Regions from separate parts of the Homo sapiens genome. Here region 2 is linked to region 1. The links are contacts of gene promoters, found by promoter capture Hi-C in human tissues and cell types (Jung and others, 2019). All regions are on one chromosome and are shown on one strand. The core of a region is centred on a gene start or on the middle of the fragment in contact, and the rest is flanking DNA. Distances in the headings are between cores, read along the strand shown.

What was found. The method cuts DNA at HindIII sites, captures the fragments that hold promoters and counts their contacts. A contact is called where the count stands out against the background at its distance.
Region 2: a fragment that was not itself captured here is called in contact with the fragment with the promoter of PRRX1 in region 1 in 3 of the 25 tissues and cell types used here (adrenal gland, hippocampus and psoas muscle).

Annotation. Positions count from the first base shown.
Region 1 is chr1:170,662,711-170,665,661 of GRCh38, forward strand. PRRX1 (paired related homeobox 1) reads left to right here and starts at 1,421. Exons shown (of 4, transcript NM_022716.4): 1 at 1,421-1,749. The coding sequence starts at 1,509. RefSeq lists enhancers at 326-853, 2,054-2,914. The HindIII fragment of the contact is 17,405 bases long and covers 1-2,951 here.
Region 2 is chr1:170,737,688-170,740,638 of GRCh38, forward strand. It overlaps PRRX1 (paired related homeobox 1), which reads left to right. Exons shown (of 4, transcript NM_022716.4): 4 at 1-1,734. Among named protein-coding and RNA genes, the nearest start is that of PRRX1, 75 kb to the left of the region's middle. The HindIII fragment of the contact is 4,339 bases long and covers 1-2,951 here.

The DNA of each region.
Region 1 (2,951 bases), core at 171-2,670:
CAAACTGTTAGAACAGCAGAAAATTTTTTTTTGGGGGGGGGCGGTTTGGGGGAAGGCAGAAGGAGAAGAAAATTTGATTGTGATGGTGGTGGATTTTTTCCAAATTTCCCCACAGCTGTTATCAAAACATGCAAATGAGATTTTCCAACAGGATCTTAAACAAATCTGGAGGAGTTAATGCCGAAGCAAAATAATCAGCACGTTTGAAGTGACTGTGAGTTTCAGTTTGTCTTTTCTCCCCGTGATATTATTGCAGGGGAATGATAATTAGACCTTTAGAAATCCAAAGGGGCTCTCTTGCTCTCTTCCCTCTCTCATTTCTCTTCTCTCTTTCTCTCTCTCTCTCTCTCCCTTCCTCCCTCCCTCCCTCCCTCTCTCCCTCCCTCTCTCTTGTTCCCTCCCTCTCCCTTTCTCTCTAACTCTGATGTTGGCAAAGGGGGTTTTCTTAATCAGACTGTTTTTTGGTCCCAGGGAAAGGAGGAAGAAGGAGATTGTGATGGAGAAAGGGGGTCTGTGAAACGTCAGGCACAGCACAAAGGCTTTGCCACGTAATTACAGGCTCCTATTAAGTCGAGATCTGCCCTCCCAGGGGTCTCCAATTTTCTTGTATTCCCTACAAAGCCTCCTCTGCATGCCAGTTTGTGCCTTTTGAAGTGCCAGAGAGCTTCTTGATCCAACTGAGAAGGAAAAAGGAGCCCAGCAAGAAGAGGGGGAGAGAGAGAAGGGGAAAGGGGGGAACCCACCAGCACCCTCCGTCGGACTCTTGAAGCCTTTTTTTTTTAATTCTTAATTTTTTTTTTTACTCTTTACAAAAAGTAAAGTGAGAATCCTGCTCTCTAATACATCTGCAAGACATCACCCTCTCCTCCTGAAACTTTAGTCACTCCTGAGAATCCACAGGAGTGCAGAGAGGGGGGAACACGTTTTCTTGAAGATGTTTTAAAGCTGGAACAAGCCTTCTTCTGTTGGTGCTTGAACTCTTGCCTGGGAATAACTTTTTTAACCTTTAAAAAAACCATTCACTTTGATTCTTCTCTCCCACCCCTTCTTCTCTCTTCTTCTGTTTGCCTAACTCCCCCGCCCTGCTGGCCTCCGCTTTCCTCTCTCCCCCTTGTTATTATTTTTAGTCTGTGCGTGTGGACACTTTTGGAGAGTTGGAAGGGATTTTTTTCTCCTGACTTGAACATAGGGTGACTTTTTAATATTGTATTTTACTGTGGATTATCTCTTTGGACCGCGCCGGACTTGGCCTCAGGAAATCAACCAATGCTGCGGAAGGCGGCTGGTGCACAACGCTCTGCTCTACAGAAGGGGGTCCCCCACCCTCTTTTCCAATTTTTTTTTTTTGGCCTTCCTCTCCTTCCCTCCCTCTTCCTCCCTCTCTCTCTCTCTCTCTCCACTACCCCCCTCTTTCTTCCCCACTCGGCTCCTCTCCCCCCTCGCGCCCACAGCGTTTGGTGTTGATTCGAGCGGGAAGAGGGGGGTGGGTGGGATCGGTGGGGGAGACCATGACCTCCAGCTACGGGCACGTTCTGGAGCGGCAACCGGCGCTGGGCGGCCGCTTGGACAGCCCGGGCAACCTCGACACCCTGCAGGCGAAAAAGAACTTCTCCGTCAGTCACCTGCTAGACCTGGAGGAAGCCGGGGACATGGTGGCGGCACAGGCGGATGAGAACGTGGGCGAGGCTGGCCGGAGCCTGCTGGAGTCGCCGGGACTCACCAGCGGCAGCGACACCCCGCAGCAGGACAGTGAGTGAGGGGCGCATGCCCACGGGGGTGTGTGCCCGGGACAGAGGGCGGGGACCCGTGTAGGGCAGCTAGAGCCCGTCCGCGGCCAGAAAGACAAGGTCCTGGGACCAGGAGAGGTGATGGCAGACTTCAAAGGAAGGGCCAGTCACAGGGGAAACCAGATGAGAAAAGCGGGTCTCGGCCGAGGGCATAGCCAAGGAGGACGCTGGAGAGAGGCTCCAAGGTCCGGGGACACTCCGAGGCCCTGCGGTCTCAGGCAGGGACTCTGTCCGCGGCGGACTCTCTTTACTTCGGCTAGGCACCGGCTCGGTTCATCCCGCACGCGGGGCGGCGGGGCTGGGCTGGGAAAAGGTCTTAGCGGGGTGCAAACTCAGAGAGCCAGCGCTGTTTGGGAAAGCAGCAGGTTAAAGATGCTGAGTCGGGTTGGAAGGGCTTCTCTCGGGCAGCGTATGACGGCTTGAGGGAGGGCACCAGGCACAGGGAGCAGGACTTGGCGCTGCTCAGGCTGCACTCTCCACGCGGGCACCGTAAGGCCGGGCGCGACCGGGAGGCCCCGAGAGAACGCCCGGCCCCAGACGCTGGAGCTGCTCTCTGCCCCCTGCTGTTGCCTCTACCGCAAATGGGTTTGAGACTGGCAGAGTCAAAAGCCCGGCTGGCTTGGGAAAACTCGGGCCAAGCAAAGGGAATGTCCTTTAAGGGTGAAACCTGAAATCCAGCCCCGCATGATCCCGCACAGGCGAGCTGCATCCGGGAGGCGCGAGCTTCAGTGCGGAGGCCAGTGTCACCTTAGAGGAGCTCTCCCTATTGGCTCTTAAACGCCCAGAAAAGTCCAGTTTCCCTTCCCCATCCTCACCGACCAACCTCGCGACCCATGAAAATCTCGCTTCGCTAGTGCCTTAAAAAGAGACTGCAATTGTATCCCCATGCCCCCAAGTCTGTAACAGACCGGTCACCCTGTTCATCCCAGGTGACATGTGGCCAGATATGTACAGATACTCCCTCTTCTCCTCGAGGTTGCAAGAGTCTGAACTTAGCTGTAAGTTCTCAAATGAGGCTGGTTGCTTTCTATGTCAGTAGTTGCTGGTTACCATTTTTGTCTTCAAATTTGGAAATCGTGGAACCGGGGGGCCCTCCAGCATTCTATGATTTTCACAAAACGTTGCCTATTTCAGACTCTCAAAGAATAGACATACAAATCAAAC
Region 2 (2,951 bases), core at 272-2,771, 75 kb after region 1:
TCCATTTCTTTTTCTTTGTTCCCAGCCATGCTTTTGTAACTTGCCAGGTGGACTTGACCAACTACATTACCATGCTGTGCCTCAGTTTACCCATTTGTAAAATGGGATTAATAATACTTACCTACCTCACAGGGGTGTTGTGAGGCTCTATTCATTTGCTCCTTTATTCTTTCCTGTATTCTCTGTATGTCCAGCACTTTGTAGCCATGGGAGGAAAGGGACTATAAAAGTGTACAATGTTAATGGAATGATACGGTACCTGAAAGCCTTGTTTTCTAGTAAGAAAATGCTACCTTGCTGTACATACTTATAACCTTGTATTTGGAAATGAGAAATAGGTTTATATTTTCAGATCTCTCAAAAATCACATCATTTGACCAAAGAATAATTTAAGACACATAGAACAGATTTTTTTAATTTATATTTTCATCCTGACCAGCTTAGTTCTAATAATTTTTAGTTGTGAGTGATTAAAAAACTTTGGATCAATTTTGGTCAAACATGCCAACTTTGTAGTCTGAGTGACAGGCAAGGATTTTTGGGTTTAAGATGCACTTTTAGCACACATTTGTATTTCCCTTGGCATATCAGATTGAGCTAATGGTGATGTTATTTCAATCTAACAGCCACCAATCTGAAATTGTATTTCAAATGTTGATTCTGTAGTTCTTTAAATAATAATGAAGCTCATCTTATACATTTTGCTTTCACCAATTGATTCCTTCTTCTTTTAGCCCACTATTAAAACATTTCTTACTGAATGGTTCATGTAGGCTTGCTGAACAGCACGCATTACTTGCTTCCTGAAGAGTTCCCCCATTCATCCATTTGTCCCATTAGTTGCTGTGGATTATCAAGTTTTGAAGGAACTGTACATCCCAACAGACTGAAACATTCTAAGTGAAATGAGTATAATCCAAGTAACTGGTGAACTTTGGAGGTTTGGAGCTTGAAGAGAATGGCTAAGAAGATTTGAATTATAGGGAGGGAACAGAAATCATACATGAAAAGGTTTTACTGAGAAGGGGAAAACCTTAGATAGAGGGACATGTGAAACAAAATCATTTGAAATTTTGATTCAGACATCCATTTCCAGTGGCAAACAGCAAAGCCTGAACCCATAAACCCAAATGATAGGTGAAGTTGGGTGGTTTTATCCAATGTCTCAAGCAAGCAATGTCTGGGAATATCATAGAGTAACAAGTGCTGGTCAGCCAAAGAAACATTCACTGCTGGTGAACCAATACCATAAGCATGTATTATCTAAGCACTTGATCAAGAAATATACATGTTGTACAAGCTCTCAATTTTGTTCATTTATTATCAAATTTTTAAAATACAAGTTTGGTATGTGATTTGGAAAAGATGCCTTCTGGATCTTAAGCCAGTTGTCAGTGGAGGTCCTCAGGGCTGCAAATGTCAAGACATAACCCTGTTCCTCACCATCATGATACCAGATACAGGTGAATACATAGGAACTATCTGCCTGTGTCCTCAATCTCCCTTCAAACAAGATGCTGATTTGTAGGGTACTTGGCAGGTTAAATTAAACCAGAAGAGGTGACTTAATAAAAAAGGGAATGACATTTAGGGTATAAAGATCTCATAAGAAATGTAATATGTAAATTATATCTTGCTTTATGTTGTAAAATATACATTGTTTGCGCTAGAATAGAAATGATTTCTTTTCAATAAAAAGAAAGAAGGACTCTACCATGTCTTTTGTTATATACATTTAAGCCTGCTGATTCTTTTCTCTTTGAACTTCAAAAACACAGATCTGCTAGAATCTGAGATTACATGCAGAACAGTGAAGGTAAGAAGGGCTTATAGACAAGATAACTTTATCTGAGTGTGATATTATTTTCCATAAAACAGGAAAATAATCTATTTTTCCTCAGAAACAAAGACAATGGTAGGAAGAAGAGGGGACACTTACTATTATAATAGATGAGAATAGAGTGGAACTTTTATGAGAGTTTAGCATTTTCAAAATCAATATCTTTAACATTCACAATACTGGACACCATATGGAAAAGACTTCATATAAGCATGGCTGTTTCTTCTGGAGTAAAGAAATAGAAAAATAAAATTTCTTAAGCATCCATTGTGCATAGCATGGGTGTGTGGTCATGGGGAGGACAGAAAAACTAAATTGTGAGACACAGATGCTGTTTTCATATCAATTAAAATCTGGTTTAAAAAGCAACCCTAGCATGCAAAAATAAGCAACAGTTCAAGATAATATATTAATAAGTATCAAACAGAACAGATAAAAGGAGTTCAGAAGAGGAAGAGAGAGAACATGCTGTTAGTTGAAGTGGGAGACCAGTTTTACAGAGGAACTGGGACTTGAATTTTATCAGCAAGGATCCGGACAGGTGAAGAACAGGTGATGGCTTTTCAAGTGAGGGCATGGAGAAGAAGGGGTGAAGGCAGGGATATAGGAATGAGGAATTTGTATTCAAAGATGTATGGCAAAATGGGCCTGGATGAGATGGAGAGTTAATTTTAAAGTTGAATGGAAGATACTAGAGATGCAAGTTGAGGCTTAATCTTGCAGGGTACCACATGTCAAAGATGTTTGGACTTTTCCTCAGGCCACAGAGATCTATTGAAGGCTTTTGAGCAGAAAAAAAAGCCATGTGAAAAAATGCTACTTTAGGCCAGGCGCGGTGGCTCACGCCTGTAATCCCAGCACTTTGGGAGGCCGAGGCGGGCGAATCACAACGTCAGGAGATCAAGACCATCCTGACTAACACAGTGAAACCCCATCTCTACTAAAAATACAAAAAATTAGCCGGGCGTGGTGGCGGGTGCCTGTAGTCCCAGCTACTTGGGAGGCTGAGGCAGAAGAATGGCGTGAACCCGGGAGGCGGAGCTTGCAGTGAGCCGAGATTGCGCCACCGAACTCGAGCCTGGGCGACAGAGCAAGACTCTGTCTCAAAAAA